Linked DNA regions of Homo sapiens: regions 2 and 3 are each linked to region 1. The links are contacts of gene promoters, found by promoter capture Hi-C in blood cells and fetal thymus (Javierre and others, 2016). All regions are on one chromosome and are shown on one strand. Each heading gives the region's core, a stretch centred on a gene start or on the middle of the fragment in contact. The rest is flanking DNA. Distances are from core to core; before and after follow the strand shown. Region 1 holds the start of TLR8 (toll like receptor 8). Region 2 has its middle 10 kb from the start of GEMIN8. Region 3 overlaps GEMIN8 (gem nuclear organelle associated protein 8).

Evidence for each region. Contacts are between HindIII fragments. The CHiCAGO score rates a contact against its expected background, and 5 or more counts as called.
Region 2: a fragment that was not itself captured here is called in contact with the fragment with the promoter of TLR8 in region 1 in 1 of 17 cell types (neutrophils); the score reaches 6.6 in neutrophils.
Region 3: a fragment that was not itself captured here is called in contact with the fragment with the promoter of TLR8 in region 1 in 2 of 17 cell types (naive CD4 T cells and total CD4 T cells); the score reaches 5.5 in naive CD4 T cells.

Annotation. Positions count from the first base shown.
Region 1 is chrX:12,904,627-12,909,024 of GRCh38, forward strand. It overlaps TLR8 (toll like receptor 8), which reads left to right and starts at 1,994. Exons shown (of 2, transcript NM_138636.5): 1 at 1,994-2,083. The coding sequence starts at 2,081. It overlaps TLR8-AS1 (TLR8 antisense RNA 1), which reads right to left. Exons shown (of 5, transcript NR_030727.1): 3 at 3,590-3,707; 4 at 1,564-1,625. The HindIII fragment of the contact is 3,594 bases long and covers 1-2,109 here.
Region 2 is chrX:14,038,049-14,042,446 of GRCh38, forward strand. No RefSeq gene overlaps it. Among named protein-coding and RNA genes, the nearest start is that of GEMIN8, 10 kb to the left of the region's middle. The HindIII fragment of the contact is 7,534 bases long and covers 1-4,398 here.
Region 3 is chrX:14,017,955-14,022,352 of GRCh38, forward strand. GEMIN8 (gem nuclear organelle associated protein 8) reads right to left here. Exons shown (of 5, transcript NM_001042479.2): 3 at 3,510-3,557; 4 at 2,124-2,580. The coding sequence starts at 3,524. Among named protein-coding and RNA genes, the nearest start is that of GEMIN8, 9.7 kb to the right of the region's middle. The HindIII fragment of the contact is 347 bases long and covers 1,904-2,250 here.

The sequences.
Region 1 (4,398 bases), core at 744-3,243:
CATAAAAAATATATATATATCATATATACATGATGATACACACACACACACACACACACACACACACACATATATATATATACGTATACAAGCATGCTTTACAAGGCCAATTGACTGGTCTACAATTGGCTGACACTTGGTGGCCTAGAAGCCAGGGTATGTGAGTCTCGCTTTTCTAGAAAGCTGACAAACTCTCCAGTTCCAAGGATCCTTGCTCAGTCAACGGCTGGAAGTCATTTTTACTTCGCTGTTTTTTGTTTGTTTGTTTGTTTGTTTTTTTAGACAAAGTCTCATTCTGTCACCCAGGCTAGAGTGCAGTGGCACTATCATGGCTCACTGCAATCTCCACCTCCTGGGCTCAAGCGATCCTCCCACCTCAGCCACCCGAGTAACTGGGACTACAGGTGCACACCACCATGCCTGGCTAATTTTTGTATTTTTTTAGAGACAAGGTTTTGCCATGTTGCCCGGGTTGGTCTCAAACCCCTGAGCACAAGTGATCCTCCTGCCTCGGCCTCTACAAAGTGCTGGAATTACAGGTGTGAGCCACTGCACTCGATCCATTCTTACTTACTTTCTTTACTTTATTTCCAAGCAAATGTTTGGAGGGAAACCAAGAGACTTGGATGCGGCCAGCCGAGGCCTTTGGGTTTACAATCACAAATGTTTTTGGTTTGCCCATGAAGGCCCAGGCTGCACTCTCTGATGTCACAGGAATCACCTCTCAAACCATGCACCAGGTCTTGAATTCCCTTAGGGTGTGATCTTTAGAGGTCCATCTAGGTATACCCACCCAAGCCATTCTTTGACTGCTGACAGGCCTTCCTTCATAACAAGGTGTTCCACAGTCCATTTATATATGGATGTCATCTCTGCCCACCCTGCTGCCAATTTGGTTTTCTCCCACTCCTGGGGTGTAAGGCAAGATGAAACATATCACATCCCGTTCTAAACTTTATTCTTGTGGCCAGGGGTCAGCAAACTTTTTCTGTAAAGGGCCAGATGGCAAATATCTTAGGTTTTACAGGCCAAGAAGCAAATTTGGCATATTATGTAGCTACTTATATAGTAAAATAAAAATTTCCACAATTATGTAATTGATGAAACTCAAAATGTAATAATAATAATCGAAGGCAGTTTTTTTGTAGTATAGGTTTAATAATGAGAAGAATGGAATCATTTTTGGAGGTGCTAACATTCTGCTTGGTTGGAATTTAAAGTTAGTGTTCTGTATCAGCAAATCCATTGCCAATGTTCATCTAAAAATGTTTTCACTTCTGGGCCGGATTTCGTTCAAAGGCTGCAGTTTGCTGACCTCTGCTCTTGGTTACACCTTTTGAGGCCCTTGCTCTCCGAGCATAAAATGGAATCCATTTATCAGACTAAATCGGGAAGATTAAATTTTCCAGCCTCACGAATGCTCAGCCATTGACTCACTCGTTCATACAATGAACACTCATTGAGCTTATACTACATGCCAGGTGCTGGAGGAGGCATGGGGCGCCCAGGAGAAAGATGCTCGCTTTGCGGCCACAGCCCAGTGGGAGGGAGACCCATACCTACCGGTGCTGTCTCAGAAACTTGTGGAACAAAGATGAAGCAATGTTCATGTTATTCGCCTACATCTGTGAATTACACAAGGAAGACGAGTTTGAGAAATCCGAAGTTCAGTACAAATTTATGGTAACTTTTTTAAAAAAGAATACACTGAAGTTTTCTTAGTGAATGGAATAATGTTCCCTTTTTCTCCCCTGTACACACAAATACACAAAAACTAACAAAAATACGTCGTGTGTGTCTGATTTGGGTTGTATTTAAATCATTTCATAAATGACTTTTTCCCATAACTTCAGTTTCAAAGTTTTAAAGCACAGTCAATTAATGATTTGGCAACAGCTAAGAAATCACAAGTTCCCTTCTTTTCATGTAAACTTCTGTAAAACACACGCTACGTTCTGCTGATGGTAAATAGAGCCATTTCAGGAAGTTAGCCAGTTTCTCTTCTCGGCCACCTCCTGCATAGAGGGTACCATTCTGCGCTGCTGCAAGTTACGGAATGAAAAATTAGAACAACAGAAACATGGTAAGCCACTTCTATTTCTTTAGCAAAGCTTTCCAACAGAATATGGGGTTTCTGACCCAGAAATCTGGGTTGGTGGCAAATGGTGTGAGCCTAGAAAGTAATAAATGGGCAAATAAGGATAAAAATTAAAGATCGAAACAACTGTAAATGCAGGTAAAGCGGCTTGCTATGATCTTTAATTTGTGCACACGTTAGTATAAAGGAATTAGAGAGTAAATTTTGAAAATCAAATGCAGTGATGATCTTACTAATTTGGACAGGAAAATAAGAAAATTTCAAGTTAGAAATTGAACTGGAAATATTACTTACTGGCCCTACCAGAGACAATATCCTCTTCCAGAACAACAGGGTTGGAAGAGAAGGTGAGGGAAATATTCTTCCTTTGCTATTTCTGTAGAAAAGGACAAACTCTCTTCCTTCACATACATAGGTCAATTGCTAGATCCTAGTGAAGCCTGAGCTTAACCTACTGTTGGAGGCTTAAAGTTCGACATTAATTGCTACTTTTCTTGGTCAGAGTTTTAAATAATTAGGTTGGTACAAAAAACTGTGATTACTTTTCCACCAACCTAATAACATGCTACAATTTCTGTAATTATTATTTTACACTGTCAAGACATAGCAGGTGGTCCGTTTTTGTTATTGTCAAGAACTGTCAGACTAAAAATGAACTTTACACTTCTTTTTAAATGATACATTTTCTAGAAAATTCAATGAGGTTTAAGAGCAATTGAAAAGTCTGATTTCAAGAGAGTCTCATCCAAAATGTACTATATATTTTTCCCCAAAGTCCTTGGAGTTAATTTTGACAACAATTTAAAGTACACTTAAGTCTTTTGAAGTTAATGGGTCTGCCACCCAGGTTGGAGTGCAGTGGCGTGATCTCAGCTCACTGCAACCTCCGCCTCCCGGGTTCAAGCGATTCTCCTGCCTCAACCTCCCAAGTAGCTGGGACTACAGGTGTGTGCCACCACGCCTGGCTAATTTTTGTATTTTTAGTAGAGACGGGGTTTCTCCATGTTGGCCAGGCTGGTCTCGAACTCCTGACCTCAGGTGATCCGCCTGTCTCAGCCTCCCAAAGTGCTGGGATTACAGGCATGAGCCACCGCGCCCGGCCTGAAGTTAATTTTTATACCCACCTAATGTTCATTATGGATCTTGAAGGTAAATTAATTCTGCACTAAAATTTTACAATGCTTTACAAAATGACTGTAGGTGGCCCATATGGAATTCGGTCAACTGGGCCAATGACACATATGGGATTGCAGTTGAAATTATCCAATTCCTACTTGATATTTGTAAGCTGCTGTGATAGCCAGTATAATTGTACTGTAAGAATGTGGTAAATAGCCGGGGCCCGGTGGCTCACGCCTATAATCCCAGCACTTTGGGAAGCCGACGTGGGCGGATCACTTGAGGTCAGTAGGTAGAGACCAGCCCGGTCAACACGGCAAAACCTCGTCTCTACTAAAAATACAAAAATTAGCCAGGTGTGGTGGTACGCACCTGTAGTCCCAGCTACTCAGGAGGCTGAGGCAGGAGAATCGCTTGAGCCCATGAGGTGGATGTTGCAGTGAGCAAAGATCGCACCATTGTACTCCAGCCTGGGCAACGGAGTAAGACTCTGTTTCAAAACAACAACAACAACAACAACAACAGATTGGTAAATAGAGTAATAATAAAATCAAATTAAACTTGCAAAAAATGGCCACTTTGCTCCCACTGGTGGCCAATGGAGGTCAAGGACCTGGCTGACCTCCTGCCTAAAGGCAGAGGTTGTTAGCCTTCGCAATGGACTCAAATCAGAGGGGGAGCTTTCAAAACTCCTGCTGCCCAGACTGAACCCCAGATCAATGAAACCAAAATCTCTGGATACAGGGCTTGGCATTTGTAGCTTTTAGAGTTCCTAAGTATCTCTACTGTGCAGCCAAAGTTAAGAATCAGTGCCTTAGAACATCAACAGTTTTTTGGTCCTTTTGTTAAAAAGCACAGTCCGTTTTTTTAGGTGGCTAGAAATGCTCCAGGAAGAGCTGAAATGTATTTACCAGCCACCTTGGTTTGATTTTAGAAAGCAAAATAGAAGTTCTAAGTATGCTTTCTCTGAAAAGCTGAGACTGCAGATAAGAGTGAGGGCAGTTGATGGAGTTCATTCTCCTCTTTCAATCACTGCTTCTCATCCTTTCATTATAATAATCTAAGAATCTCAGAGATTATGAAAGAGAAAGCAGTCTTATGGAAGACCCCAGACTCACAGAATATTAGGGTGTGTTTCACAGGGAAGGATGTCATTACCCACAGTTAGTCTTTGAAACGCA
Region 2 (4,398 bases), core at 558-3,057, 1.1 Mb after region 1:
TAACAAATAATGAAATTATGTCCTTTGCAGAAACATGGATGCAGATGGAGGTGATTATCCTAAGTGAACTAATGCAGGAATGGAAAACCAAATATCACATGTTCTCACTTATAAGTGAGAGCTAAACATTGGACACACATGGACATAAAGATGGGAACAATAGACACCAGGGAATACAAGAGGAGGGAGACATGGAGGGAAGAAAGGATTGAAATACTACCTGTTAGGTACTATGCTCACTTCCTGGGTGATGGTTTCAATTGTACTGCAAACCTCAGCATCATGCAATACACATTTGTAACAAACCTGCGTGTGTACCCCCAAATCTAAAACAAAAGTTGAAAAACAAAACCAAAACACCCCCCCCCAAAAAAAAGAATGACCTCAGACCAACACCTATGAAAGGGAAAGGAAAGCACGAGATTGGATAGAACAGGGTTTTTCAACTGTGGCATAGAGACATTTCAGACTAGGTGTAACACTTTGTTGTGGGGCTGTCCTGTGCACTATGGGATGCATAGCAGTATCCCTGGGCTCTACCCACTAGATGCCAGTAGCACACATACACACCTCCCTCCCCTTCAGTTGTGATGACCAAAAGTGTTTTCAGACATTGCAAAATATGCTGGTGGTGGGGAAGGAGGGGATAGCAAATTGCCCTCAGTTGAAAACCACTGGGGTAGAGAGAAGGGCTGAGCTTGAATGTGTGCCTAACAACTGTGGTAAACCCCAGGGGATTTAGGGAGCCAGAATGGCCCTTCTGAGTTGTAGAAAGTTGGGCTGATATGGTGGGCACTTTTTTCTCCAGCATGGATCAGTCATTGGATGTGGGCTCCTGAAAAGGGGTGTGACATTGCGTAAGGAGGCTCTCTGTGACTGGAGCCGCAAGTTCCTCATTGAAGGGGAATCTGGAACATCCCAGTGTTCATGGCATGTGCTACTCTGCAGTTGTTCATTTACTTCTCACCATTTTCCATTTAATAATAAAATTCTTGAGAATTGAGACCACATATTATTTTGTTGTGTATCATTGAAATCCAGTATGCTACATGGGAATAAATATTTTTAAATAATGAAACGAAATGAGACAATAATTGGGTGGATATTTGTAAACTTAAATATGATAATAAATGGTTTCATTATGCATTTTATTGAGATATGAGAAACTTTCAAGAGATTTATCCATATTTATATTTAGTTATGAGTTCTTTTTTGAGAAGTAACAATTTACTCAGCTGACAGCACTAAACAGTACTGAGCTAATCTTTAACAATGTTTTGATTTCTGTAAATGAGATTATCAGTAATTTAAAAAGAGGATTAGGAAGTTTGTGTGGGATAGAACCAACTAATTGCTGAAATATACACAGAATTCAAGTATTGAAAAGTTTTACTTTAAAAAGATGTGATTATAAAGCATTGTTTCCTATGTATAGCCCTGTAAAATAATACCCATGTGCATCCGGCAGAGGGCACAATTGTACAAAGTATTGGAGAAATGCTTTTAAAAGGAAGTGCATTAATCTCTCAGTCATAGGCTGTAGTGACACATGTCAGTCACATGTAAATGACTCTATACATCTAAAATTCAATAGTGTATTGTTTTTAGATGATATTTCACTACTGCGTTTCCAGCTCTATTCTTTCACATTGTTTTTAAAGTTACTACATCTTCAACAAAATCCGAATTAGGTTAAAATTAATCTCTAAATAATTTTCATTTCAACTGGCTAAAATAATTTGAGGCCAACAATGTGTAAGGCTTTTTTAGAGCATAATTTTACGTATGTTATGTTTTCTGTCCTCACAAGATATTTTATGGGTCATTGACATAGAAGCACAACTACATATACTGTGCAGAATCACCCTTCTACATTAAGAAAAAAAATCAGGTCCTGTCCCTGTATACTGTCAGATTTTTCTTGGCATGGATCTTGTACATGATGAGCTTGCACGGTGAAATGGATGAATCCCTGTCCGAGGGATGGAAGGTCTGTCTTTGTCCCTTCCTGGTTGTGTCACTACTTCTCAGAGCCTGCCTATCTTCATCTGTTAGTAGAGGAACAATGATGCCCACGGGGCCCTCTTCACACATGGGTGTTGTGAGTTCATGGTTTAAGAGCCATGATATCCACTCATTAGATGCATGTGCCATAGGACAGGAGTAACTGAGTAACTGAAGCAACAGCAGGCGTCAAGAAGTGTCCACTGGACGGTGGTCAGATTCTCTAGTTTTCCCTCTGCTAAGAGTTTGACTGAATGAATCTCTGGGTTCTTGGGCAATTCAGGGAAGTGGGGGAGAGTCAAGTGAGGAGTTAAATTTCTGCTAATCTGGGGAGGAGGGCTTTGACTGGTATTACAACCTCATTTTCACCACAACCTCGTAAAGCAAGTCACTGTTCAAATACATTTCTTAATTTAGATATATTTCTAATTTCACTTTGGTGAATTTATTGTTTGATAGTAATCCAAAACTACACAAGGACAGAATAGCTGTATATGTGAAGGTGTTTATTGCAGTATTGTTTATTGATAATTGGTAAAATTGAAAGCAATTTAGGAACATGGACTATTAGGCAGCCATCAAAATGAAAATTATGAATATTATATAGGCACATGGAAAGTATGTGATGAATGATAAGTCAAGTCAAAGCAAAATAAATCATATATTATGCTAATAGCTATGTAAAAGTTGAGAATATATGTGGTTGGGGAACAATGGCAAGAAAGATGGAATGGTAATAACTTCTAACCTGTCCAGGAGTTAGTAGCAGTCTTTGTGTGTGTGTCTCTCTCTTTCCCTCCTAAATCACATTATTGCGGTTATAGTATATTTGTAGAATGAGACACTTCTAAAGAGATTTTTCGTGCTTTGTTTGAAATACAGTAATGCCCAATTTGTCCAGTCTGTTAGGAAAGAAGTGGCCTATTTAAATGACTTATGAATCTTCTTTTCCCCATTAACTGATGTTTACTCCTCTAAACACAAAAACAACAACAACAAAACCATTTTGACTAGAAATCTTTCTAAAATCTATTGTGTACTTTCCTGTCTTCTCCAACAGTTTCCTGAGCACATTTTATTCTTGTCTTTATATCTCAGGCTTACCATGATGAATGTCAATTTCTCTCCCACACTAGAATGCAATGAGCAATACAAATATAGGGTTATTTGCCTCTACATGGCATGATCAAATCTCTTTTGAGTTTTGATTCCTTGGTTCTTATTTTTACATGTTTTCTTTTTTTGTTGTTTGTTCTTTTTCTCACTTTTAGTCTATCAGGTGTCATTTTAATGATTGTCAGTGTTCCAGCCTTTGGCAACCTATCCTTCCTAACCTGCCAACAAATTTGCTGCTTCTAACATGCCTTGTTAGGAAAATCACACAAACGAATTGACTAGAATTATGTGCAGAGAGCTCCAAAAGGTGTTCCATCTTATGTAAGTGTTTGGACAGTGGAGACATGGTGATACCTGTTTTGGTTGTTCAGAGATATTTTGCTTACTTCTCAGCTCTTGGCTGTTTTCTGGATGCGTTGAGGTCTCAGGGAGATGGCCTGTGTACAACAGACATGTTGCTTCAGGGAAAATAGAATACTGACTCACAGAAACAAAGCATAGTAGTCATAAATCCAGTTAACACCAACAAATCAATGGAAACTGAAAGCAGAGTCAAGAAATCAATAGTTATAAAAAAAAAACCCACACTTGGATTTGCTCCATTCTGTTTCCATGACACTTCATCCATTCCATTCATAGACTTCATCCTGGGACAAATTTACCTCCAGTTGAGAAAGAAGCAATGGAATGAGGAAAAGAAGAAATGATAAAAGATAAATTAGAGAATCATAATTTATGGAATTCAAGGATCTTTTCCTTCAGCCAATCAATAAATAGCCCATATTTCAAATATATAAGACATATTTTGAATGTGTAAAGCAGGTTGCTAGGTGCTGTGGAGACTCAAAAGAAGGATGTATTTATGCTCCCTACCCTCACTCATTTTTAATTAAAAAAATTTTTTTGAGATAGAGTCTTGCTGTGTCACCCAGGCTGGAGTGTAGTGGCATGATTACGGCTCACTGCAGCCTCGAACTCCTAGGGTCAAGTGATCCTCCCACCTCAGCCTCCCAAGTAGCTGGGACCACAGGCATACACCACTACGCCCAGCTAATTTTTGCATTTTTGGTAGAGATGAGTTTTTGCCATGTTTCCCAGGCTGGTATCGAACTTCTGGGCTCAAGCAATCTGCCCACCTTGGCCTCTAAAAGTGTTGGGATTACAGTCATGAGCCACCATGCCTGCCTGGCCTATTTATTTATTTAGAGATAAGCTCTTACTCTTTTGCCCAGGCTGGAGGGCAGTGGCACAATTACAACTCACTGGAGCCTTTTTTTT
Region 3 (4,398 bases), core at 827-3,326, 1.1 Mb after region 1:
GACAGATTTGGAAATAATATGAAACACAGAGATGAAGCTTATCAAGTTTATAATGCACACAAGGCCTAGCTCATTCTGTAAAATGTCCCACAGAATCACTGCAAGTGTAGCACTCTATGGGTAAGATTTGCCAACCTCTGATTTAAGGCTTCTAATTCACACTGAAAGACTTCATTTATTCACTCAAAATAATATTAAGTGGCAAGTATGACTTAGCAGGTAATTTTCATGATTTTGTTTACCTACCTAGAGTTCTACCTAACAATGGCAAGAGGGAGGAATAGGGATGGTTGTTAACAATATCTGTAACTGAACCGTTCACATTTTTTCTTTGGTGCAAGGACACATTTCATTGTTTTATCTTTATTTTATTCATATCCACTTTTTATTGACTAACTCAAGTTTATTTTAAACCAGCAGATAATTCAAAGTCACCTTTGAGATGACTGGGATTTGCTTCCATCCATAATTACAATTTCCATCATAAAAGTATCAACCTCTAGTGGGCAAAACATGTTATTCTACTTTCTGGTAAGGACAAGAGTAATAAACTCGATCTCCATCCCATTTTCTCTGTCAAAAGCTGTAACAAACAGCATTCCAACCCAAACATGGACATGCTCCAATGCTTCTCATTTGTTGTATATATTAGACTAATGGTTGTTTCGTATCTATATTTTTAAAAAGGGTAAAATTTATTTCTGGAGATCAAGCAAAAGTATTCTGTGTGTAATAGAAAGTACTGTCTTAAAAGTATTTGTTTGGATATACTTCTTTCTTTCTTTTCTTTTTCTTTTCTTTCTTTTCTTTTCTTTTTTTTTTTTTTTTTGAGCCAGGGTCTCGCTCTGTCACCCAGGCTGGAGTACAGTGGTGTGATCGTGGCTCACTGCAGCCTCAAACTCCTGGGCTCAAGCCATCCTCCCGAGTTGCTGGGACTACAGGTGTGAGCCACCACACCTGGCTGGATATACTTTCTAATATGCTTAAAGAAGTACACAGTTTAAACAAAAGAAAGGAAGTCAAAAAAATCTGAACAAGTAGTTTAGTGAAGAATCACGGACGAAGATACTAAAGGATATAATATTTTATACAAAGCCCAGTGCTCAGTTCTTGGCATCCAGTGGGGATCAATAAAAGCTAATTCATCATTAGGAAAATGCTGACAATGACAGACAGGAATGAAACTCCCATTCCCAGGTTTCTACGCTTCTGTGTCATTGGAAAATTGTAGGTAAAATGTCATACAATTAGGCCTCACTTAAAACAAAATTGAGAATGAATACTGGTTATAATAGGGAAAGAAGCATTTGTATCTCAGTTAGAGGTACTTAGAAATGGTCTGGTGAATTTTAATAGGAGAGCACAAAAGCTGTTCTAGTTCTTTCTAGTAAGGTGGTAAGAAATTTAAAAAGAAAATTCCTGTTTTTGACTGAAGATATAAGACCTTTATCATAATTCTCTGACCCCATGGACAGGGCCTCAATGCAGAACCAACAGGAAAGTTGTAAGTGCCAGGCATTTCGTTACTCTGTTTAGGTTCATGCTATTTAAGATTTGGGACCTCTAGCACCAAGGACATCTCCAAGATGTGTCCCAGAGGAATGGCAAAAGTATTTTAGGAACCTAGCAGTCTCAGGGACAAGTCCTAGTATACAGAAAGCAGTACAGGAAGTAGAGGTAGGCAGATTTGGTTTGGATCCTAACAGCAAATTACTAGTTGTGTACCACGGAACAAGTCAATTAACCTTTTTAAGGTTCACTTTCCTCATATATAAAATGAGTTTAATACTCTGAGGGACTGCTGTGTAGATCAGAGCACGCACACACACAAGCATGCATGCATACACACTCCATTTGGTAGAGTGTCTAATGGTTAATAAATAGTAGAACTACTATTAGGATAAGCTTTGTTCTGGAACAAAAAAATGTCTTATACTAAAACAACTCCAGAAACTAACATAAGCAAGGTACAGCATCCCCATAGCTTTTCCAGGCTTAGGACTGGATTTGGAATATTACCCTAGCCAATGAAGAATTATAAAATTACTTTATATATTAGAGAAAAAAAATGTAAAAGGCAGGGCAAGGAAAGGAAGCATGAAGAGACAGAGGCCTGAACTTACGTCGTTCTTCTCTATGCCTCTCGGTCTCTGCAAAGTACTGGCGGAGCTCTTCAGTGATTTCCATATTGCTCAGGTCACATTCTACCTCTGCATCTGACTCAGTCTCCATCTCTTCCTCTTTGGACAAAGCTTGGTCTTCTTTTGTGGATGCCTGGATCCTACTGCTGTAACGTGGATGCTGCCCAGATCTTCTGAAATGTGAAGAACTGCAGGGGTAGTCCTGCCAGGCCACATGATGGTCATAGAAGGACTGAGGATACGCAGCCTCATTATCGTAAGAGCTTTGGGGAAGAAGCGCAGAAGGTAAGTACCATGGAAGATTGAAACAGGATTCCACGGCCTTCCTGTAGGCATTGTGATGGCTTTGCATCCAAGCCATTGCTTGATGATAATGTTGCCAGTATCTTGCATATACCGGATGAGAATACCAAGGCCTGGTAGCTTTCGATGTTGATGCCTACAAAATGAAAGGAGGTGGAGGGTGGACACCAAAGTGTTTATTATCCTCAAGAGAAATCTTCAAATGTTTAATCTGCTACCCAACAGGTATTTACTTAGTATTTGCTAAATACCTACCTACATGAGGAGGCTACTGGGCCCAAAATATTGTGTGAGATAGGTCCAGGCCCACAGTGGACACCAAGTGTATGCACACTTGCTAAGTCCATGTACATAAGGTATGCACAAGCCAGCCAATTAAAGCTATGGAGCATTATAATGTGGGGATGAAGGCTAGTGATCGTTTCTAGATGAGACGCAGGGAGAGAGAAGACTGGATGTTTATCACCTTAGCCCTCTCTACCCACTGTAATTAAATGACTACTGCCAACTGAGCAACGGCCTGCTAAGAACCACACTAGACTGACAAGCATGACAGACTTTAGTTTTTCCCTTTCTGCCCCCTAAACTAACTTGCTGGCCTGAGCCACCCCTAAATGCCTGGGGTAAGAGATGTCTAGGAATGCACCCAATAGTGCTTTTACTTTTGTATTTCTTAGGTCTTCTCCATCGTGCAATGAGAATACCAAACTTTAAAGACTAAAATTTACCAGCAAACTATCGCAAGGACAAAAAACCAAACTCCGCATGTTCTCACTCACAGGTGGGAATTGAACAATGAGAACACATGGACACAGGAAGGGGAACATCACACACCAGGGACTGTTGTGGGGTGGGGGGAGGGGGGAGGGATAGCATTAGGAGATATACCTAATGTTAAATGACGAGTTAATGGGTGCAGCACACCAACATGGCACATGTATACATATGTAACTAACCTGCCCGTTGTGCGCATGTACCCTAAAACTTAAAGTATAAAAAAAAAGACTAAAGTTTACCTTTTTTACTTACGAGCTCAAAAAAAAAATAAAAAAATAAAAATCTTACCTTTACCGCTGCCATCTCTGATTGTGAAAGTCCAAATGGGTGCTGAAACTAGGAAAGAAGAATCACAGTGCAAACGTCTGATCAGTATGGCTGTGTGATATTTGTGGCTATTCTATGGTTTGTGAGGCAGCTCCCAAGGAACTGCCTCTTCCCAGGACCATGCCTGATTTCATGCAACCTATCTATATGACGTTGGTTCCTGGGCTATAACTTTGTGGTCTGAAAAGGAGGGATCCACTTAGGTTTGATTAAGTGGGTCAAAAGATCCTGCATGGTTCAATTACTTATTTCCCTATAGGAAGTAAAGTCTATGAAAATGACCATATAAATATTTAGTAGTTAATGTGTGTGTATATATATATATATATATATATATATATAGTATATATATACTGATATATATACTGAGGCTGGAGAGATGTCTTATTCTCCAAGTCCCAGATAATGTATATGTATAATGTATAATGTATACACACATATATATGTATATGTATGTATACACATATATATGTGTGTATATATAATGTATATATACACATATATGTATGTATACACATGTATATATACACATGTATATATAATGTGTATATATATGTGTGTGTGTGTATATATATATACACACACACACAATATACAAAACATGAACTAAAAATTTATAGTTATTACTTTATTTACTAATCCTTAACTCATGCTAATGCTTACTTAAATTAACCCTGGGTCTTCCTGAGGCTTGAGGGGAACACATCTTTCCAAATGACCAGAAACCTCTGTTGGGTCTTGCCTTAGGTTTGGGACTTGGAGAATAAGACATCTCTCCAGCCTCAGTTGTGCCCTGGGCTTTAAGTTCCCCAAATGGGCTTTGTTTTCATTTTGATTGCAATATGCATTT